Regions from separate parts of the Homo sapiens genome. Here all the other regions are linked to region 4. The links are contacts of gene promoters, found by promoter capture Hi-C in blood cells and fetal thymus (Javierre and others, 2016). All regions are on one chromosome and are shown on one strand. Each heading gives the region's core, a stretch centred on a gene start or on the middle of the fragment in contact. The rest is flanking DNA. Distances are from core to core; before and after follow the strand shown.

The links. The method cuts DNA at HindIII sites, captures the fragments that hold promoters and counts their contacts. A CHiCAGO score of 5 or more calls a contact.
Region 1: a contact is called between a fragment that was not itself captured here and the fragment with the promoter of ORC4 in region 4, in 1 of 17 cell types (activated CD4 T cells). The highest score is 5.1, in activated CD4 T cells.
Region 2: a fragment that was not itself captured here is called in contact with the fragment with the promoter of ORC4 in region 4 in 1 of 17 cell types (naive CD8 T cells); the score reaches 6.3 in naive CD8 T cells.
Region 3: the fragment with the promoter of KIF5C here is called in contact with the fragment with the promoter of ORC4 in region 4 in 9 of 17 cell types (non-activated CD4 T cells, total CD4 T cells, activated CD4 T cells and 6 more); the score reaches 17.9 in non-activated CD4 T cells.
Region 5: a fragment that was not itself captured here is called in contact with the fragment with the promoter of ORC4 in region 4 in 8 of 17 cell types (naive CD4 T cells, total CD4 T cells, fetal thymus and 5 more); the score reaches 13.7 in naive CD4 T cells.
Region 6: a fragment that was not itself captured here is called in contact with the fragment with the promoter of ORC4 in region 4 in 7 of 17 cell types (total CD4 T cells, non-activated CD4 T cells, naive CD8 T cells and 4 more); the score reaches 7.7 in total CD4 T cells.
Region 7: a fragment that was not itself captured here is called in contact with the fragment with the promoter of ORC4 in region 4 in 1 of 17 cell types (total CD4 T cells); the score reaches 7.5 in total CD4 T cells.

What each region holds. Positions count from the first base shown.
Region 1 is chr2:148,814,225-148,817,583 of GRCh38, reverse strand. No RefSeq gene overlaps it. Among named protein-coding and RNA genes, the nearest start is that of KIF5C, 59 kb to the left of the region's middle. The HindIII fragment of the contact is 846 bases long and covers 1,340-2,185 here.
Region 2 is chr2:148,856,210-148,859,322 of GRCh38, reverse strand. LOC101928526 (a long non-coding RNA gene) reads right to left here. Exons shown (of 2, transcript XR_244868.1): 1 at 1,479-3,113; 2 at 1-124. Among named protein-coding and RNA genes, the nearest start is that of KIF5C, 17 kb to the left of the region's middle. The HindIII fragment of the contact is 4,757 bases long and covers 1-3,113 here.
Region 3 is chr2:148,873,742-148,876,770 of GRCh38, reverse strand. It overlaps KIF5C (kinesin family member 5C), which reads right to left and starts at 1,544. Exons shown (of 26, transcript NM_004522.3): 1 at 1,028-1,544. The coding sequence starts at 1,153. KIF5C-AS1 (KIF5C antisense RNA 1) reads left to right here. Exons shown (of 4, transcript XR_001739733.2): 4 at 576-3,029. RefSeq lists enhancers at 1-299, 300-878 and a silencer at 1,251-1,720. The HindIII fragment of the contact is 10,493 bases long and covers 1-3,029 here.
Region 4 is chr2:148,019,377-148,022,546 of GRCh38, reverse strand. It overlaps ORC4 (origin recognition complex subunit 4), which reads left to right and starts at 1,810. Exons shown (of 14, transcript NM_181741.4): 1 at 1,810-1,914. MBD5 (methyl-CpG binding domain protein 5) reads right to left here and starts at 1,456. Exons shown (of 14, transcript NM_001378120.1): 1 at 863-1,456. RefSeq lists enhancers at 1,289-1,388, 1,568-2,165 and a silencer at 1,739-1,898. The HindIII fragment of the contact is 3,631 bases long and covers 1-2,752 here.
Region 5 is chr2:148,760,046-148,762,985 of GRCh38, reverse strand. EPC2 (enhancer of polycomb 2) reads right to left here. Exons shown (of 14, transcript NM_015630.4): 5 at 1,056-1,204; 6 at 184-316. Among named protein-coding and RNA genes, the nearest start is that of KIF5C, 110 kb to the left of the region's middle. The HindIII fragment of the contact is 734 bases long and covers 966-1,699 here.
Region 6 is chr2:148,783,534-148,786,575 of GRCh38, reverse strand. EPC2 (enhancer of polycomb 2) reads right to left here. Exons shown (of 14, transcript NM_015630.4): 12 at 2,820-2,979; 13 at 1,575-1,908; 14 at 1-271. The coding sequence ends at 199. Among named protein-coding and RNA genes, the nearest start is that of KIF5C, 90 kb to the left of the region's middle. The HindIII fragment of the contact is 702 bases long and covers 1,271-1,972 here.
Region 7 is chr2:148,899,342-148,902,315 of GRCh38, reverse strand. The region is part of intron 1 of KIF5C (kinesin family member 5C); the gene reads right to left. Among named protein-coding and RNA genes, the nearest start is that of KIF5C-AS1, 5.8 kb to the right of the region's middle. The HindIII fragment of the contact is 635 bases long and covers 1,116-1,750 here.

The DNA.
Region 1 (3,359 bases), core at 513-3,012, 800 kb before region 4:
GCTGACGCAGTTCTCACTGTGCAGACTGGAGATGCTTTGGGTTTTAATTTAAGGAGCTCTTTAAAATCTTCTCTCTCCTCCACCCCCACTTTCCCAGGAGACATCATATCCAGACGTCAGCTCATAAAACCAGGTCCAATTTTGGAGGCTGCAGTGATCTGGGAACCATCCAATGTGTCCTTGCAGACAGGCAGTCACAACTCGGAAATGACGATTGCATAGAGGTTTCAATGTCGCATGCAAATAGCCTATCTCGCTGACAATTTTCAACTTGCTGTCATTTAATGATGCTTCCCCGCTCTCCAAGGAAAGCTGGCACCAAGTGGGGGAGGGGTTCCTGCTTTTCTTTTCAGTGCTCCACTCATACCACTGTGGCTTTCAGAAGCTGAGCTGGGAGTTCTGAAAAGCCAATATCTTTATCAAGTGGGAAAGGAGAGAGAGCCAGGCAGAGATAGGTTTCTCTAAAATAAGACCCTACTTGATTTTTCTCCCTGGGACATTTATAGCTCATAGCAATGAGCCCCAAAGATCCTTATTTGTCCTAGAATCAGAACCCTAGTCTCACTCAGCTGAGGGTAGGGGGAATTTAATGAGTATTTCTGTAGAGCTTTGAAAATTACCACCATCACTTCAGTGTCAAAAACACAGACAGCGGCCAGGCACGGTGGCTGATGCCTGTAATCCCAGCACTTTGGGAGACCAAGGAGGGTGGATCACCTGAGGTCAGGAGCTCGAGACCAGCCTGGCCAACATGGTGAAACCCTGTCTCTACTAAAAATACAAAAATTAACGGGGCGTGGTGGCAGGCACCTGTAATCCCAGCTACTCGGGAGACTGAGGCAGGAGAATCGCTTGAACCTGGGAGGCGGAGGTTGCAGTGAGCCGAGATCGTGCCATTGCACTCCAGCCTGGGGGACAAGAGTGAGACTTTGTCTCAAAAACAAACAAACAAAAAACAAACAAATGAAAAACAACACAGACGGCTAGGTATGGTGGCTCACACCTATAATCCCAGCACTTTGGGAGGCTAAGGCAGGAGGACGCTCAAAGCCAGTAGTAGCTCAAGACCAGCCTGGGCAACAAAGCAAGATCCTGTCTCGACGAAGAATTTTTAAAAATCAACCTGGTGAGATGGCACACCTGTAGTCTCAGCTACTTGGAAGCTGAAGTGGGAGGATCATTTGAGCCCAGGATGTGGAAGCTGCAGTGAGCTATGATTGTGCCACTGCTCCAGCGTGGGCGACAAAGCAAGAACCTGTCTCTAAAAAAAAATGTAAAAATGTTTAAAACCACAGCGTATATAGAACAATATTGGATATTTGTTCCTGGCCAACAAGCTTTCATTGAGCAATGTGTAAGAACTGCTGAGGGGGAACAAAATAATCCACCTCAGAACAGAATCTCTCCCCAGAAAGCTCAGGCACCATGCGTTGCAGAACAGAGAGGCTTGTTTCCGGAATGAAGACAGGGTTCAGGGGCACCTCGAGTAGCAGCTGAGGCCTGAAGCACTGCATCTAGAGCAGTGGTTTTCAAAGTATGGTCTCTGAGACAACAGCATCACCTGGGATGTAGTAAAAATGCAGATTCCCAGGGCTTGTCTCAGACTTTCTGAGTCAGAAACTTGGTGGGGTGCAGTGGGGGGGGTGGGGGGGGCAGTAATCTGCATTTTAACAAGTCCTCCAGGTGATTCTAATTCAATTTAAAGTTTGAGAACCATTGACGTAGTCTGGACTCCAGAAAATCATCTTGGAAATTTTGAGCCCTGCTGGATTACAGGCAGGAGGGCGGCAGGGAAGGACCCTGCTTTAAGCTATTGCAGTCATTTCCTCCCTAGTGTAAATGGGGATGGGAGTGGAGGTGGAGGGGGTGAAGGTGAGAACACCGGAGGCAGAGAGGCTGAGGAGGTAGAGGAGCACATCTTTTCTGCCTTCCCTGTGGAAGCAGGATCCACCCAGTGCAATGATAAAGCAGCTGCCTGAATAGGATCCTGCCCTCTGTTTCACAGGCATGGGGTCTGCAAATGCGTCTGGAAGGGTTACATGGTGGGATAGAGTTAGGTGAGATGGCCACAGGGAGGATCTCAGGATCAGTCCGGAGATCAACCCTAACTGGCTGCTGTGTACAACCTGCACAACAGTACATGGTAGCCCTGCTCAGGAAACAGGAGCTGAAATAAATAGAAGCTTCATCCTCAGAGCAAAGAAGAGATATGAAGGCGAATGCCAGGGTTGAGGGGGGCAGTAGATGAAAGAGAAGATGAGCTCCAGAACAAGGTGTTTTAAGGGATTTGTTCTGATCAGGTCTGGTAAGACACACAGACACCGAAATGACTCATTGTAATTGCCAAAGCCAATGCACTGAGAATAGCAGCGGTTTTTTTTTTTTGGTTTTTTTTTTTTTGTTTTTTTGCAGCAAATAAACAGTTTAATAATCACAGGGCCAGCCAAGTGGAAGAATGAGAGTTAGCTCTTAAATCCATCTCCCCAAGAATTTGGAGGCTAGAGTTTTTCAGGGATCATTTGGTGGGCAGGCAGCCAAGGAATGGGGAGTGCTGATTGGTAGGTTGGAGGCTGAAATCATGGGGGTCGAAGCTATCTTCTTGTGCTGAGTCCATTCCGGGGTGGGGGTCATAAGACCAGTCGAGCCAGTTCCATGGTATGGGTTACTGGTCCGGGTGGTGCCAGCTGGTCTATCAGAATGCAAGGTCTGAAAGGTACCTCAGATGCCAGTTTTAGTTTTTACAAAAGTGGTGTTCTCTATAGAAGCGTTTGGGGGAGGTTACAAATCTTGTGACCTCTGGCCACACAACTACTAAACCCCATTCTATCCTCGTTGCTAATTTTTTATTGGTTTTACAAAGGCAATTTTGGTCCCTGAGCAAGGTGGGGGTTAGTTTCAGGAAGGGGCAGTTATGATCTTTGTTTTAAAGTGAAACTATAAACTAAATTCCTCTCCTGTTTAGCTTGGCCTACACCCAGGAAGGAGCAAAGGCAGTTAGCTTGTGAGATTAGAAGCAAGACGGAGTCATTTGGGTCAGATTTTTCTCATTGCCATAATTTCTGTCAGATTTCTCTCATTGTCACAAATTTTACAAAGGCGATTTCATTATGAAGAAAGGTTTTTTGGTTGTTTTTGTTTGCTTGTTTGTTTGTTTTTGAGACAGGGTCTCACTTTGTCACCCAGGCTGGAGTGTAGTGACACAATCTCAGCTCACTGCAGCCTCCAGTTTCCTGGCCCAGGTGATCCTCCCACCTCCACCCCACCCAGTAGCTGGGACTACAGGCCTGTGCCACCACGCCTGGCTAATTTTTTTGTGTTTTTAGTAGAGAAGGGATTCACCATGTTGAAACCAGGTTCAA
Region 2 (3,113 bases), core at 160-2,659, 840 kb before region 4:
GAGGCTGGCTGAGATGTGTTCTCATGGCAAGGTAGAGGTGCAGGAGTGAGCAAGCCCAAGTGTGCAGGAGGTCAAGTGGGAATGTGCTTGTACCATTTACACCTCTGCTTTGCATTTGCTGACACTGGCCAAATCAAGCCACAAAGTTTTAGGGCAAAGGATGTTGTTATGGACTAAATTATGTTCCCCCTCTAAAATAATATGTTGAAGTCCTAATCTTCAAGCCACGGGAGGTAATTGAGGTTCAATGAGTTAAGGGAAGGGCCCTAATCTAATAGGGCTGTGGCTTTATAAGAAGAGAGAAAGCTCCCTCTCTCTCTCCATGCCATGTGAGGACACAGTGAGCTGGTACCTTCTCCAAGCCAGGAAGAGGGCTCTCCCCAGAAACTAACCATGCTGGCACCTTGACCTTGGACTTCCAGCCTCCCAAACTGTAAGAAAATAACTTCCTTTGGTTTAAGCCACCCAGTCGAAGATATTTTGTTATGGCAATTTGAGCAGACTAAAACAGGTGTGGACTCATGGACACCATTTATGGGAGACATCCATGCAACTATGTACAGAAGGAAGGAAGGAAGGAAGGGAGGGAGGGAGGGAGGGAGGGAGGGAGGGAGCAAAAAAGGAAGGAAGGAAAACAGAAGGGGTAATGGGGAGGTGGTTGTGTGAAAGGTTCTGGTTCTGCCTGCAGTACTCTCTTTGTAGCCTATTCTCTTCCTATCTCAAAATTTCATGCAAGCCTTAGTAATAGATTTTTTTAAAATATGTCTTTTTTAAAATTTAACTTTTAAGTTCAGGGGTACATGTGCAGGTTGGTTACGTAAGTAAACTTGTGCCATGGGGGTTTGTTGTACAGATTATTTCATCGCCCAGGTGTTAAGCCTAGAACCCATAAGTTATTTTCCCGATCTTCTCCTTCCTCCCATTCTCCACCCTCTGAAACTCCCCAATGTGTATTTTTCCCCTCTATCTGTTTATGTGTTCTCATCATTTAGCTACCAATTTATAAGTGAGAATATGCAGTATTTGGTTTTCTGTTCCCTGCATTACTTTGCTAAGGATAATGGCCTTTAGCTCCATCCATGTTCCTGCAAGGGACATGATCTCATTCTTCTGTATGGCTGATAGTATTCTATGGTGTGTATGTGCCACATTCTCTCTATTCAGTCTACCACTGATGAGCATTTAGGTTGACTTAGGTCTTTACTATTGTGAATAGTGCTCTGATGAACATACGTGTGGGTGTGTCTTTATGATAGAATGATTGATATTCCTTTGGGTATATACCCAGTAATGGGATTGCTGGGTCAAATGGTGTTTCTGTTTTTAGGTCTTTGAGGAATCACCACACTGTTTTCCACAATGGTTGAACTAATTTACATTCCCACCAATAGTGTATAAGCATTTCTTTTTTCTCCACAACCTCGCCAGCACCTGTTTTTTGTTTTTTGTTTTTACTGTTTAATAATAGCCATTCTTACTGGCATGAGATGGTATCACATTATGGTCTTGACTTGCATTTCTCTAATGATTGGTGATGTTCAGCTTTTTCATATGCTTGTTGGCTGCATGTATCTTCTTTTGAGAAGTGTTGGTTCATGTTCTTTGCCCACTTTTCAACAGAGTTGTTTTTTCCTTGTAAATTTAAGTTCCCTATAGATGCTGGATATTAGACCTTTATCAGACGCATAGTTTGCAAAAATTTTCTCCCATTCTGTAGGTTTTCTGTCTACTCTATTGATAGTTTCTTTTGCTGTGCAGAAGCTCTCTAGTTTAATTAAATCCCATTTGTCTAATTTTTAGACAAAATTTTGGAGAAAATTAGATCCCAATTTTTGCTTTTCTTGCAATTGCTTTTGGTGTCTTCATTATGAAATCTTTGCCTATTCCTGTGTCCAGAATGGTATTGCCTAGGTTGTCTCCTAGGGTTTTTATATGTTTGGGTTTTACATTTAAGTCTTTAATCCATCTTGAGTTAATTTTTGTATATGGTGTAAGGAAGGGGTCCAATTTCAATCTTCCACATATGGCTAGCCAGCTATCCCAGCTCCAGTTATTGAATAGACAGTGCTTTCCCCATTGCTTGTTTTTGTCAGATTTGCCAAATATCAGATAGTTGTAGGTGTGTGGCTTTAGTTCTGGGCTCTTTATTCTGTTCTATTAGTCTGTGTGTCAGTTTTCATACAAGTACCCTGCTGTTTTGGTTACTGTAGCCCCGTAGCATAGTTTGAAGTCAGGTAACCTGATGTCTTTAGCTTTGCTCTTTTGCTTAGGACTTCCTTGGCTATTCAAGCTCTTTTTTGGTTGCATATGAATTTTTTAAACAGTTTTTTCTAGCACTATAAGGAATCTCAATGTTATTTTTAAAATAATAGCATTAAATCTATAAATTGCTTTGGGGAGTATGGGCATTTTAACAATATTGATTCTTCCTCTCCTTGAACATGGAATGTTTTTCCTTTTGTTTGTGTCCTGTCTGATTTCTTTGAGCAGTGTTTTGTAGTTCTCATTGTAGAAATCTTTCACCTCCCTGATTAGCTGTATTCCTAGTATTTTATTCTTTTTGTGGCAGTTATGAATGGAATTGTTTTGGCTTGACTATTGTTGGTGTATAGGAATGGTAGTGATTTTTGTGCACTGATTTTTTTTTAATTCTGAGACTTTGCTGAAGTTGTTAATCAGCTTAAGGAGCTTTTGGGCCAAGACTGTGGAGTTTTCTATATATAGGATCATGTCGACTGCAAACAGGGATGATTTGCCTTCCTCTCTTCCTATTTGGATGTGCTTTATTTCTTTCTGTTGCCTGTCCCAATACTATACTGAGTAAGAGTGGCAAGAGAGAGCATCAAAAGGTGTCTTCTCATTTAATAGAGTTTGAGGATACCTATAGGCTTCCCTGCCCTAAAATATACATAAAAATATAAATTGACTCTAAAAAGCCACTTTAATATGCTTTGACTCAAGTTATTGCAAGATCCTATTCAAAAGAAAATGTGCCTTCACTCATTTAATGAGATTGAGCACAAGACTTTGCCCTAGGAAATTATACCACATTTCTCTAAGGACTCTTCCAATTCAGAAAAATAAATTATATTCTTGCTACCATGGGAGCTACT
Region 3 (3,029 bases), core at 295-2,794, 850 kb before region 4:
ACACACGCTACGGACAGCGGGCGGGGAAGGGGCGGGGGACCGAGCTGGTTTGTTTCATCTGACAGATTCCTTTAAGAACTACAATCCATTGGTGTTCCCTCCCCCTACCAGCAGCCCCAGCTGCAGAGAGGGAGCTAAGTAGGGGGAGGGGGTGGGGGAGAAAAGGTGGGGAAGGGAGATAGAGAGGGAGGGGGGTCCGAGCCGCACGAAGTAACTTCTGCTCTTGGCACAGGGGGCTACTGCGCTCTGAGCCCCCTCGCCCCACAGATGTGGACACAGCCTCCTCTCCACCCAGCGTGAGGCGCATCAGAGGGTCTGCAGACATGGGAGGGAGGTCATCCCAGAGGGGAGGGATCAAGCCGGGACTCCACATCCAGGGCAGCCAGGCGTGAGAGGAAGCGGGAGACACACCAGGCCTCCAGGGGACACCGAGGCCACCAGTACTCCCCCAACCCTCCGCCTTCCGCGCGCGGAGCCAGGTGTAACACCGCGGGGAGCCGCGTCTACACTGCCGCGGGAGCTCCGAGACGCGACTAGAAATTTTCCTGTACCCCTTTTTCTTTCTTTTTTGCTAGGGTCGTGAGAAGAAGAGGCAAGGCGTTTGGTAAATCGAATTGATTGATGCCCAGAAGCATTTGCGGGTTGCAGAGCTCACACTTTAAAGGGGGCCTGGGCACCCGGCTTGAGGGTCACCCGAACACACTACCCACGCGGCGAGGCGAGCGTGGGGAACAATGGGCCCACCCGGGCCCCCACCCGGCGAACAATGGCGGCGCCGAGCCCGTCTTCGCCCCCCATCCCCACCCCCGCCACCCCCGCCCGGCCCGCCGCTCCCGGCCGCCTCTCCACCCGCCCGGGAGGGAACCATAGTGCGCGGGGCGAGGGGTCTCTGGTCAGGTCCACCCGAGAGGCCAGCCCCGCGGGAATGTCCGAGGGGGCGGCCTAAACACCTCCGCTGCGTCTGGGGCGTCGGGGCGCCCAGCTGCGGCGCGGAGCAGCAGGGAAGGCAGACGCCCCAGCCACTTACCCCGATCACCACGGTCTCATCGCCTTTAAATTTGGGGATGAATTTGTCCCCGCGGAGGATCTCCGCTTCGTTGAGGGGCCGGAACCGGCACATCACTTTGATGCTGCATTCGGCTGGATCCGCCATCTCGGCCGGCGGTAGGGAGGGGGCACGGGGATGGGTGGGGGGCCGGGGCCGGGAACGACGAGGGAGGAGGCCGCGAGCTGCACCGCCCACAGCTAGGCCGCCTCCTGCAGCCTCCGACGACGCTTCTCAGCAGGTCATCGCGAGCCCGGCCGGCTGAGCAGCCCCGGCCGCTCCGAGCCCGGGAAGGTGGGCAGCTTCTCCGCTCCGGCCCCTCCGGCTGCAGACCGGCCTGCCCTGGCCCTGCCCCGCCCCTGCCCAGCGCCCCCCGGCCCACCTGCCCGCGACCACGCGGCGGGCGGAGGAGGCGATGCGCAGGGAGCGAGCCTCGCCCGGCTCAGACCTCCCGGGCTCCTGCGCGCTCAGCCATCCTGCATCAGCACCAGCGCGCTCTGCCGCCTTGAGACCCGCCCCTCCGCCCCGCCCTCCCCTGGCCCGCCCCGGGACGGTGACGTCACCGTAGAGGTCCGCCCGGCCCCCGCCCGACTCCGAGCGCTGCGCATCCCGGGACTTGTAGTCACTCTACCTGCCGGGGGAAGGACAGGATGCGACCTCCAAGAGCCTGCAAGTCCGGTCTGGCTGCCCAAGCCGGAACCGGATGGAGGTCATATCCAATATTTCCGGTTAAAATCTCTAGATAACTGGGTCTGGATCATCCTGATCCCAAAAGAAAATCACTTGGGAAACAGCTCCCAATAGCCCCTGGGTTTCATCCTTCAACTTCTACCACTAGATAAGGATGGATGTCTGTTCAGAGTTTGGGTTTGATTGGCCTTGGTTTAGGTTGGCATCTAGTGCTAAACCAATCAACCAGAATCAGGGATTTTGTAAGATTATGGAGGAATCCCTTGGTGGGAAGGTTCCCAAAAGAAGAGGGATGGTATTCCCAGACATGGTGCCGGGCTGGCAGAACAACTGAGTGTCCACTCTATTTTTCCAGAACTTCCTTTTCCTCTAAGACCTAGCTCAACCCTCCTTCCTCAGACTTTCCCAGCTCACTAAACACCTATAAAGAGTTGGTGGCCCTCCTTGATGTTCCCCTAATCTGCTGTGCCTGTCTCTAGCACTGCACTTGGGTGGTGATATCTGCTTGATATCTTTGTGTCTGTAGCATCTAGCACATAGTGGGCAGCATACTGAATAAGGATTCTACCCTAGGAAGAAGCAATGCATGAGTGTGAATCCCACCTCAGCCACTTATTAGATGTATGACCAACAGGCGGAGGAAATTAAGAGCGGAGGAAATTAAGAAGTCTTAATTTCCTTAAGACTCAGTTTCCTCATCTCTGTCATTGGAATAATATCATCTTGTGATTTCTGGGGGAATTAAAAGACAGATGCTTTTAAAGCACCTAGCACGGTGCCTGACATGTATATAGGATAAGCTCTTGAAAGTTAGATGTTATTGGGTGCTGAACAAATGATCATAAAACAAATAAGTTAGTTAATTTTAGGAACACATCTGTTGCTTAAATTCGGGTAATACCTGAAAATACAAGTGTTCTCTGCCTAGCTGAGAGGACAGACCTACTAAAATCAACTTTTATAAACCCTTGTAAGTAGTACCAGTTCTATTTCATCTCCTCATGTGCAGTGGAAGTAGATTAAAAAGACCCAGGTGCCACCTTCTCATCTGTTTTTAAATTAAGTAATTCTCAGGCTCTGGCTCAGAGACCCATCATCTTAAATGATCAACTTCATAATATACTAGAGAGGACAATCCAATTCTCAGTTTCCCTGAGCCCACCAGAAGATGCCCAGAACCTTGCATACACTGGTTTATCTGAGGAGGTCAGGATTATCTCAAGTGGACAGAGACGTATCTGTGTGTCACTGTGTTCAGTCATCATTCATTCGTTCATCTGTTCATTCATCAGCT
Region 4 (3,170 bases), core at 561-3,060:
AATGGGGATTACTTGTTCAGACAAGTTACAAAGATTACAAATATACCCAGATTAATTATAAAATAGCTAATATTCTCATCATATGGAAAATAAGTATCAGGAACGTATGTGGGAACAGACAATAGCAGTGGCATTTAAACTTTAAGCATTTTAGAGCTTTGGACTTTATATACTGATATATGAAACAGACATTTAACCAAAAAAAAAGCAATAATGCAAGTCAAAACCTAACCAAAGGCCTCTACCAACTAAAAATTTGAAATTTTCCATGGAAGTCAGACAAAACGAAAAAATGGAAAATGAAACCCTTAAAGCAAAAACCAATCAAGTCTTCCAACACTGAAGTCAATATCCAAATCTCATACAGGACCAAAAAGGGGAAAACACTCAGGTCTACAAATGGATAAGCAGTTCCAATACAATCCAGATCCCGACATTTTCCCACTCAGAAACAAATGCAGTGGAGCTTTTCCTGGAGAAAAAGAGCTCTCCAATGAATTTTTTTTAAGTGACATCTAGAAAGTGTGCCTCTTTCTGTCTCTTTCCCTGGCGCCTCATTGGAGGAAGGAGGGGGTTGTTTTTGTATTCTCCCCCACTGGAGCAAGACACAATCAGATGTTAGATGGAGGAGAGAAACCACTTTTGACAACAGCAAATAAAAATAAAAGTGCCCTTCCTCCCCTGACAGGATGGGCACCCCACCTCACACACCCCTCCCTACTCCAACCCCTCCTTCACCCCCCCCAGCACCACCCCCTCCTCACCCCGGAGCTCCACTGCGTATGTGGTTTGGTGCTACTGTTGCCCCGGAGTGAAAGTCAGAGCCAGAGGAAGGCAATGAAGCCCCCACAGACACACTTACCTTTCCTGCCCCCCACTTTTGAGTGCCTTCCCTGGAGCTGTGGAGGATGACACAAAGGGTAATAAAGGGGGGGAGTGGAGGAGGAGGAGGCGAAGGAGGAGGAGGAGAGCTGGGGAAGTGGCTGCTCCTGGGTGTAGTGAGATGTCTCCAGCCAGGGCCAAGCAGCAGCAGTAGCAGCAGCAGCAGTAGCAGCAGCAGCAGCAACAGCAGCAGCAGCAGCAACAGCAGCAGCAAAGGGTCTGTGTTGCTAAGAGGCTTTTGGTTTCTTTCTCTCCTCCTCTCACGGCCAAAGAGGAGGAGGGTGGAGGGAGGGAGGCGAGTTGGAGGGGTGAGGGGGTAGGAGTCGTGGATGGGGGTTTTCGAAGAAGAAGAAACTCCTTCTCCTCTCTCAGGCTCAATCCCCCTCTCAGGGCTCAGGGCTGGAGGGTGGGGGAAGGAACTCAGCCGCCTTCCCCCCACCCCCCTGAATTCAAGGTTGAAGTGGGGTAGAATTAGTGTCCTGTCCCTTTAAAAATAGAAATAAAAGGTGCCCCCCCTCTGCCACTGCCTCTCTCTTCATCATCAGCTGCTGCTGCTGCTGGGGTCTCTCTGCTTGGGGGGGAGGGGGGGTTCGGGTAGAAGAGACGGGAGGCACTCACTGCGCATGTCCCTCTCTGACGGGTGGCTGGTTGGTTGAAGGCAGGAGGAGGGGGAGGGGAGGAAATGAGCTATTTTCCCAGAAGGCGTCGAGGCGCTAGCGACCCGGAAGACATTGTAGCGGGAGGTACAGGAGCGGGGGCGGGGAGGAGGAGGAAGTCGCTACGCTTTTAACACCCCCAGCTCCCTCCTCCTTCCTAAGGGAAAGTGGAGGAACGGAAGTGGGCGTGGACGGAGACGAAAGGAGGTCACGTGTTTGGGCGGGAGAGGGGCGGGGTGGGAGAGGTAGTGCGTGCGCGGGGCATGCCGGGAGTGGTTGTGTACGGTCCGCAGCGGCAGGTGAAGTCTAGCAGAGGACGCGGCCAGGCGATTCGGTGAAGCGATTCCTGCAGGCGTTGGTTCCCCTCTTTGACCTGGTAAATGCAGGCTTTTATGCGAGAGGTAATGGTGGGGGTAAACTTGCTGCAAACGAAGGCCAGGGGCGTCGGTGGCGCAAGGTGAATCGAAAGTGGGAGGATGGAAGGCTGTGGAGATTGGGAATTGGGAAGGGGGCAGGCTTGTATAGGCCGGGAAGGCCAGGACCAGGCGAGCTCCGTCTTGTGGCCACTCCCGCCCCGTGAGCTTGCCGAGGAATCCTTGACAAGTGCAGGGATCCTGAGTCTACCTCTGCATCGGGGTAGTAGGTGAGGAGCGTGACGGTCCGAGTGTAAGAGAGAAGGGAACTGTGAAGCCTCAGCAATTGACCCTCATGACTGCAGGACGGAGGACTTCTATCTAGGGACAGAGACAAGTCCTCTGTATGCATTTTGACCAGATGCATCACACGCGTTGCTCATATTGGATATTGCGCCCTTCATGCCTTACCTCTCAACCCTCCCTGGTATTCTGGAGTGGCTTTGGGGAAGGAGCAGGCAGGGAAGTCTTGAGTGGAGCTTCCCTCCATGTCTTGCGTTGTTGCTACAACACAAAGCCTTTGCTTTTTCTCGGAGAGGGATGTGGGATTGTGTAGTCCTTAATGTTGAGTTCTACGATTGATGAAGGAGAAGGGACGTGATCAAAGTTTCCCCTTATAGTGTAGATGAGAGTTTTAAAAGGACTGTTTTGTCAAGTTTCTTTGGTTACTATTCTTAGTTTTTGAGCCTTTGGTTTCCCAAATGCCAGCTGTTTTTGCTGAAAATAATGAATTTCTATCATAAAATTAGAATTAACTCAAAATATTTAAGAAAGGATTTATAAATTTACATTAGTAAAGCTTTTATAGTGAAACAGTGCTGGTTCTTTTTCATTGTTTTCATACAATCAATATAAAGCATCACAGTCTCAATATGTTTTGTAAAGATATTTTGAAGGAATATCATCTTTGTATGTTTTTTAAAAACCAAGAATCTAAAATTCTTCGTATTTATTATGTTGGTACTTAATTCTGTTGGGTGGGTTCTTTTTGTTTGTTTTTTGTTTTGAGACGGAGTCTCGCTCTGTCTCCCAGACGAGTGCAGTGGCGCGATCTCGGCTCACTGCAACCTCTGTCTCCTGGGTTCAAGCAGTTCTCCTGCCTCACCCTCCCGAGTAGCTGAAACTACAGGCATGTGCCACCACGCCTGGCTAATTTTTTTGTGTTTTCAGTAGGGACGGGGTTTCACCATGTTGGTCAGGCTGGTCTCGATCTCTTGAC
Region 5 (2,940 bases), core at 83-2,582, 740 kb before region 4:
ATGAGGATTAATTGGTCAGTATGTATATAAATACTCCTAGCAAAGTGCTTGGCTCATGGTAAGAACTAAAGTCACGTTAATTACTTTTTCTTTACTCAAACCATATTAAGACAACTGCAGAAATCAATAACTCCTCTGATCAACATTACCATCCATACATGCTTCTTCCCAGACAATATTCACCTTAGTTTTACATTCTTGAACTTTGTGATGATTTCCATTATGAAGAGTTGCTGGAGTGGCATATAACTCTTTTTCTGATCTACTGATTTTTACTTCATTAAGGATTTCACCACCATAGTCTCCCAAATGGTATCTTGAAAAGGTAACAAAAATATAAGAAAACATTGCATAGTTTGACAATAAAGAAGGAAAATAAGTGATACCTCAATTAATTGGAAGTCACCTAGTCAAAAAGGGCTAACAATCAAATTACTTTTAAAAGATAAAATTTGCAGGAATAAAGAAACAGGGATTTGGTAAAAACAAAACAAACCAAAAAACTAAAAAAGGCCTAAGGTACACAGCAAACAAATTTCTTACATATATTATATAATCAAGCACTAGGAAATGTTTAGAATGCTTACTCCAGGAATCATACAAAATTCTGTTTTTGTTTAGTCTATTTAATTTTGTAGGAAAATATACTATATTAGAGCACACATTTCTAAAAGGAGTTGAAACGAAAAATGTCTACCTACTCAGAAAATAAAATCAATACTTATTTCCCTCAGATTTAATAGAAAATTTAATACAGAGAAGTAAACAATATGATCACTAGAGTTCTTTACTAAATAAAATTCAATGATTCTGCCAAAACAAAATTAAGTATAGGATCTACAGTATACACAAAACTCTCCCAAAATCTGCAATCCAAATTGATAACTTAATCTATAAAAACTAGTAACCACAAATCTTTAAAAAATATAAATTCTTACAGAATCAATATCAACTGTCATAAAGCTTAACCTGTTCCCCCCTAAAAATCTTTTGGTTCATTTTGCCCATCATTTGGTAAAGTTGTCATTTTACTGTTGTAACAGGAGCAATGTTACCTTTTCTCCACAACTTCTAAGGTTAAGTGCAATAATTCTCGTTTTGTTTTCTCTCTTCTCTTAATCATTTCCAAAATTGTTATGGCTCTACTAAATTCTCGTCTCAGTTTCAACATCTTTTCATAAGAGGCTTCATCATTCTTACGATTCTATTAAAAATAATAATTTTAGAAGAATAAACAACACAGTTATCTACATTTCCGGCTTTATTCAATAAACTCTTATCAGACCTGAATTTATCCTATAAAAGTAAAATGTTAAAAAAAATCTGAACAGCAACCTATGTAAGATAACCTATAACTATTTAACTCTGAAAATATAAGTACAAGCAAGTATCTCTCGACACTCAGAAAAAAAATGTTGCCAGCTGTTGAAAAGGTAGAATGGCATAAAGAGATAATTTCAATGTAAACAAACAAAAAATGTCCACCTGAAACAAAATCTGTTATCAGAAAATGTAGTCCATTCAGCGTGTAGGAAAGTATTTTCCAATGACAGAGAGGAACAGTTCTGTCCAGATCAAGGTAACAGTCAAAATGAGTCCCCTCATCCATTCATCCATCCATCTCCAGCTCTGTAACTGGGGGCTGGATGGTTTGATACACTGTACTATTATGTGAACATGAACAATGACCAGTAAAGCTTCACTTCAGAAACTCAGAAAACTGAAAGTAGGATAACAACCATTTCAAGAAATCGGACTGTCAATTTTCAATGTAAATGTAACACTCCACTGCTGAGTAGAAAAGAGATTTAGCAAAAATACTGAATTTCAGAACACTGTTTATTAGCTTTTCAACTAATTATTATACAAAGTGAAAGCCCTGCTACATAACTAGAAAAGGCTCAGTTGTAATTAGTAGCATCTATTTGCATATAAAATTATTACTAATATAAACTATTTTGTTAAACATCCACAGATTCCTCACTTTACTATTAGGCATGGAACTATTTGTTTAAAAATAGACCACTACCACCTCTCCAATCTATGCATCCAGAGTGAACTGTACTTAAGCAATCATTCATGCCTTGATTTAATAATCTGAAATGACATTAGAAAGAACCTAAGGAATACCAAAGGTTTCATATTGGAGGATTATAAAAGAGAAAAATAACAATTGAGAAAAAGTCAAAGTTATACTCTTTTTCTTTTGTGTATAGTTTCCTGCATTTGAAAAATAATAGTCATATATTAAAAATAACCTACACTAAGTCCCATTATGGTATTCCACATCGAATATTAAAAATAAGTCATCCTTTTGTGTAATTTTAAAAAATTCATCTTTTTCTTCTTCATTACTATGACAAAAGGTAAATCTAAAGCATATGTTTAAGCATTTTTTTAAACAGGCAGCAATAATACCTTTCAATTAAAAAAATTAATATTTTCGACAGCAACTATTAAAGTGCCTACACTGTGCAGGGTATTGCACATGTCCCTTACCCTCAAAAGGCTTAGAATCTAGTAAGGATGACAGACAGAAAACAGATATACAGAATTGTAAGGCAGATAATAATATGAGGTTACATGCCAGCTGGCAGCTGAATAATATTCAAAAGTGCACCAGAACCTTTTAGATGGCTCCCCTGTTCAGTAAGTGTTCCTCTTGGAGGTTCTACCCTGTCTTATTCATATCTTGTTTTGCTTTTGTGTGTGTGTGTTTGTGTGTATGTGAGACAGAGTCTCACTCTGTTGCCCAGGCTGGAGTGCAGTGGTGTGATCTCAGCTCACTGCAACCTCTGCCTCCCAGGTTCAAGCGATTCTCCTGCCTCAGCCTCCCTCCTCCCTCAGCCTCAGTAGCTGGGATTACACGAATCCACCATCACACCCAGCTATTTTTTGTATTTTTAGAAGAGATGGGATTTCACCATGTTGAGCAGGCTG
Region 6 (3,042 bases), core at 372-2,871, 760 kb before region 4:
CAAATAAACTATTTTACAAGGTAGTGATTTTCCCAATTTTACAAAATATACATCATATATGGATTTAACATCCAATATACTATAGTCCATTTAGGTCCATTGTTACACTCTGTGATCCACAGAGTGTTGCCTTTTGCATTCAGCTGGAATATGAATGACTGCACACCATCAGCACAGGTCAGAGCCACGTGTTTTAGGTTATGTCACTTCCATAGCTACTGTTGTCTCTGCTATTCCATTTAAGCCCAATCTTTCTGGTTCGTGGTTCTCTCTATGGTAATAAGGCAAAGGATAAAATAAATATCAATACTCTCTAGAACATGACGTTACCATTTAGTATTTTACAAAAACATTGTTACATAATTACAACTAAACATGACTTCACAAGAACAATTCCCATTTTTGCCATTTCTAGATAGGAATGAGAAAAACTTTTCTTCAGCTCAGAAATTCCATTAATTCCTAATTTTTTTATTATGGCTATTTACTTAGGAAAGATAATAATTTAACATGGCATTTCAGTAGAAGCCAATGAGAAATTACTTATGAAATATGTATCACAGGACAAACCAAGTTTTTCTTTTTTTTTTCTCGAGAGATGAAGCATATGACACTCAAAAAGAATAATCATTAGGAGCACAATATTACTGAAATTACTTTCCATTAGAGTTTAATTCTATAGGCTTAAGATCATGTATTTATTAACCTATGCAAATCAATTTTTTTCTGATTCATTGTTCTCCTTGTATTAGTGTCATAGAAAGAAATATAAAAACATTCTAAAATATACTATGGATGTCCGTAGTAATCCATAAAAGTAAATAAGGTAATTTACTTTCCCTTTGTGTATGACGCTAAAGAAAACACAAATTTGGATGTGAAACCTAAACTCTGGCATGGAGTTAATCATAACAACTCCCATCTTCCAGACTGCCTAAACTATAAAACATTAATACAAGAGGAACTTCACACTTGTAATCCCAGCACTTTGGGAGGCTGAGGCGGGTGGATCACCAGGTCAGGAGATTGAGACTATCCCGGCCAACATGGTGAAACCCCGTCTCTACTAAAAATACAAAAATTAGCCAGGCATGGTGGCATGTGCCTATAATCCCAGCTACTTGGGAGGCTGAGGCAGGACAATCGCTTGAACCTGGGAGGCGGAGGCTGCAGTGAGCTGAGATTGCGCCATTGCACTCCAGCCTGGGCAAGACAGCAAGACTCCATCTCGGGGGTGGGGCGGGCAGTGGGGGGAAGAGTAACTGAAGCTTCTAACATAGACTCTGATGTGTTTGACAGTTGGATGTCCTTTTCTTTCTTTTCCTTTCTCTCTCTCTCTCTCTACTACTACTCTGTCTTTCTCTAACAATCCTACTAGGTTGGCATTTAAGCATCCTACTAGGCACCTTAAACAAATACCTAAGTCACAGAGCTTTATACAGATCTTCAGTATCTATTGAAAATCAAGTCTGTCAATAAACACCTATTGCTTGAGCAGTGTAAAAAAAAGTCTTTTTCTTCCCACAGGACAGCCAGCACAAAGGGAGAAAAATCACTGAAACACACACACACACCTTGCTATGCTGCTGATGGCACTGCTGGGAGTAACCTTTGGCACTCTGTCCATACTGGCAGCAACTGTGGCAAGTTTTAAGGCTGTTGGCGATGGTGCTGAAGTCCGTGTATTGATATGCACATTGACTGGAGAAACAACACTGACATTATTGAGGTGCACTGCATTTGTCAGGCAGGAATTGTTCATGGGAAGTGTCTGAGGACTGCTTGTGCACAATGCTGGGATTAAGTGGTTTGTAGTGGTGTGGCCAACTGTCCTTACAAGCTGTACAGCTGAAATCCCTGGGCTGGATGATAAAGCCATATTGGTGGAGTATAATGTTTTAGAGGTTCCTGAAAAAGAAAGAAGTCATTCAACTAGTATCATGAGACATCAATACAACTATTTTTAGAAGCTTAATAAAATAAATACGAACATTTGTATTTGAATTGAATGCCAAGTTAACTTTTCACACACTGGTCTCTCCAAAGGGAGCTTCTGATCACTAAGTAGAATGTACTAATCTGCTACAACCCCCAAAACACCCTCTTTCTACTGGTCTACATAAAACGGCTTTGCAAAGTATTCTGCTGCCTGTATCTGGCAACTGTGGAGTTAAGTATAACAGGACAGATGGAAATGACAGTTGGGTTTCCCTAAGTATGTACACATGCATGAATATTAGTAAAAATGGACAATCAGGTTCATGGGTATATATAAAAGCAACTGGAAAATCCTAGGGTCTGAGAGGTAGTTGAAGGATGATAGGAATAACAAGTCTTTGCGGACTCAGGGTACTAAGAAGCACACAGGGTTTCACAGCAATACTCTATCTAAAGAGCGGGAGCCAGAGTTAGTATGCCTATGAGCAGTATGTAAGAGTGGGAAGGCAAATCTGATTTCCAATTTATTACTGTCCTGGATTATCTTTCACTTTTTTATCAATGCATGCATGATTCAATGGGGATGGTTAGCTCAACAGATTTCCTAAGATGTGAGGCAACTGACAGTATGTGAATGAAACCAGGAAGGGTAGAATGTTACACAGGTATGTATTCAATGGATGAGGGAGAAAACAAGGAGTAGATTCTACATGAATTCTAGAAAACATCTACCTATTTCCCACTATCTTTCCAAAGAAATCCTAAAGAGTCCTGATTGACTTATACACATTTTCCCCTTGGATAAAAAAACAAAAAACAAACTCCCAATCACTGAGTTACAACTTCAAGAAAGTAGGTACCATGTGAAACCCCAGCTGTACCTGAAGGCTGGACAACACCGTTTATGTTGTTGTGGCCAGTGTTCTGTTCCTTGGCTACCTCACTGCGACTTGGAACAGGTGCACTGACCACTGCAGATGCAGCAAAGTGGGCGCTGGCTGAGTCAAGTGTTTTAGACATACAGTCAGAGGTGCTTGAGCCCTATAAAATGAACAAAGTTAAACACTCTAATTTTTAGATGTGATTTTATGAACATATTAAGGG
Region 7 (2,974 bases), core at 184-2,683, 880 kb before region 4:
TGGCACGAAGAAGCTGTCTGCCTTTCCCCCTGTTGAGCCATTCAGGGCGAGAACCCAGGACTCAAAGAAATGGAACCACAGAAGAGAGAATCCAGGAACACGAGGGGCACTTCTGCTGGCTGATTCGACCACAAAAGGTGCTGGTTGCACAGTCACTGCACAGACAGGGGGCATTAACAGGAGGGGAAAGAAAGGATTTCCATTTTGTTATGGACCAACGCTGACTGTTAGAACCCCAACTCACAGTGCGAAAAAGAGCAGCAAACCCGGTGAAGAGGTCTCTTCTGTGCACAGTCCACCCTCGGGAGGGGCAAGAAGTAACCAATCCTATTTAATTCAAGTCAAAAATCTTTAAAAACTATACCTTCCTTACATTTGTTCCAGTGTTCTGGCCTCTGCAGGGGCTATTGACTCTTTAAGAGGCTGTAACTGACGCCATATCTCACAGGCCGTCCTCCAGATTCCTTAAGAGGTGACAAACAGTATTTCCTCTGAAATGTCAGAGATTGATGGGGGGAGGTTTCCAGGAGCAAGGAGCTAGGAAGGCTGGGAGGGATGGAGGGACCAAGTGCTACAGTGACAGGAGCCTGCCACTGGGGTATCTGACATGGGTGTACCACATCTGCCCAGCTGGTTCCCAGAGCACTGATGGGAGGAAGTTGCTTAAAAATATTAAATTGATAAATAGCCTGTCATTGGGAATAATTGAAAGCATCTTATATCTCAGTTTAAAATCTCCTTAGTTCGGTTTCCATATTGCTTTCTTTTTTTATTTTCCTTGAATGAGAAATATGTTCATATAGTTCAAATACCAAAAAGTATAAAGGATTTTTTAAAGGTATAAAGTATAAAAGTGAAACGTCTCCCTCACATCCCTGCCCTCTATTCCTGCAGCTGCCAGCTGCTCACCACCTCCCAGCCCCAACACTTCTGCTGGTGCCTCACCACTCTCTCCAGAGTTCTTTCTTTGTGCACACAGAAGCAGTCAACCATACATCCCTAATTGTTCCTCTTTGTGCTACAAAAGGTGGCAGGTTATATATACCTGCCTCCACCTTGCTTCTTCCACTTAATATATCTTGAAGACTTTTCCATATATCAGTACATGGAAAGCTTTCTCATATTGCTTTATTTTTTATTTACATACAATGATGTATAGATGTGAAGTATTCCACTAGATGATTTTGACAATTAGATATCCTCGCAACATCTCGCAACAACCACCTAAGACTAAACAGGGCACTTGTATCATGTCCCTTTCTGGTCAACCGCATCTCAGCAACCACCATTTTTATTTCTGTAACTGTAATGCAATGTGGGTTTGTTGGGGTTTTTTGTATTTTATGATATTAAGATTTCTGTTCCTGTCAGAGAGCAGCAACGAATGTTCATGAGCTATTCTCTATGAAGAATCCTCCAACACAAGTCCCTGCCCCACCCTACCTGCCCCCTTCTAGACCAGGTACCCTCCTTGTGGCCCCACTCCTACACTTGCTTTCCAACACTGAACCATAATCACTTCTGAAATTTTCTCTTTCTCCCTCTGGTCTGTAAGCCCAAGCTCCATTTCTTTGTCCCCAATGCATCTCCAGTACAAAGCACCAATTAAATATTTGCCAAACCCTTTCCCAAAGGCAGTTTGTAATTAGAGAGTAAAGGTGTCGATCTCTGACCAGTGTTGCTATGGGAATGACTGAATGCAAACTTCATTTTACAATTAAAGTAACTGTCAGAAAGGAGGCAGGAAGCTTGTAAAGAGGCAAACGAGGGTAGTGTGGGATGAGAAAGAGCCATTCCCAGGGTTCTGTTGGCAGGGAGGGAGAGGCCCCTATGTCAGCTGACTGTCTGCACTCATGGAAGGAAAAAATGAGGAACATTTTAAGACTTGATTTCCAAGATTTTGAAAACAAATCAGAGGCCTTTCTTGGGCTTAGCATAAAACCATCACAGATAGGCATTCCCTACATGACTAGATCACTGGACTGTAAGCTTTAAATAGAAAATGGTGAGGCAATGTGGGTTATTGGAAAAGAGTGTCCACAATGATATGTGTTTAAGGATGAAGGGGGAGATAAATTATCAGGAAAACCATCTGCTCCAAGGTCTGAGAAATAGAAGGCACTGGCAAAATAGAGACATCTTTGGGGAATACTGAAAACTAAGCTGCATAGAAGTCAAATGGGGAAAAAAAATCACAAAATCAGCAAAATAGCTTTCCAAGAGCAATCAAACAAGGTACCTGAAGAGTAGAAAAACAGTTCAATAAAGCTGACCAAGCAGCCCGACTCTGGGGCAGCTACCAACCTTAATTGTCTCTGCATCGGTTTGAGCTGAGCTTAAAGTTAGGCAGAATGAAGTGGCCAAGCACTTGTTTTCCATGAGATCTGAAATCATTCTGTTGCCTTAATGCCCAGGCATACCCTACATTCAGCTGTGAACACAGGAGACATACACAGAAATATGAGAAGGGAAAGCCCAACCTCATGGAATTCAGGAAAGAAATACCCATGACTTGGCTGAGGAAATCTATTGCAACCATTTTTAAGGAGTCTGTTGGTAACTGAGGAGTAGTAATTATCCAATTGTTTTCTTTTTTTTTTTTTTTTTTTTTTTGAGATGGAGTTCTGCTCTTGTTGCCCAGGCGGAGAGCAGTGGCGCGACCTCGGCTCACCGCAACCTCTGCCTTCTGGAATCAAGCGATTCTCCTGCCTCAGCCTCCCAAGAGGCTGGGATTACAGGCGCCCACCACCACGCCCGGCTGATTTTTTGTATTTTTAGTAGAGATGGGGTTTTGCCATGTTGGCCAGGCTGGTCTCGAAATCCTGACCTTAGGTGATTCACCCTCCTCAGCCTCCCAAAGTGCTGGGATTATAGGCATGAGCCACCACGCCTGGACCCAGCTGTTTTCTTATGCCAAGCATAAGCACATCTAGATGTTCTCATTTAAGAGAATAAAATAAATCTCTTTAATTTG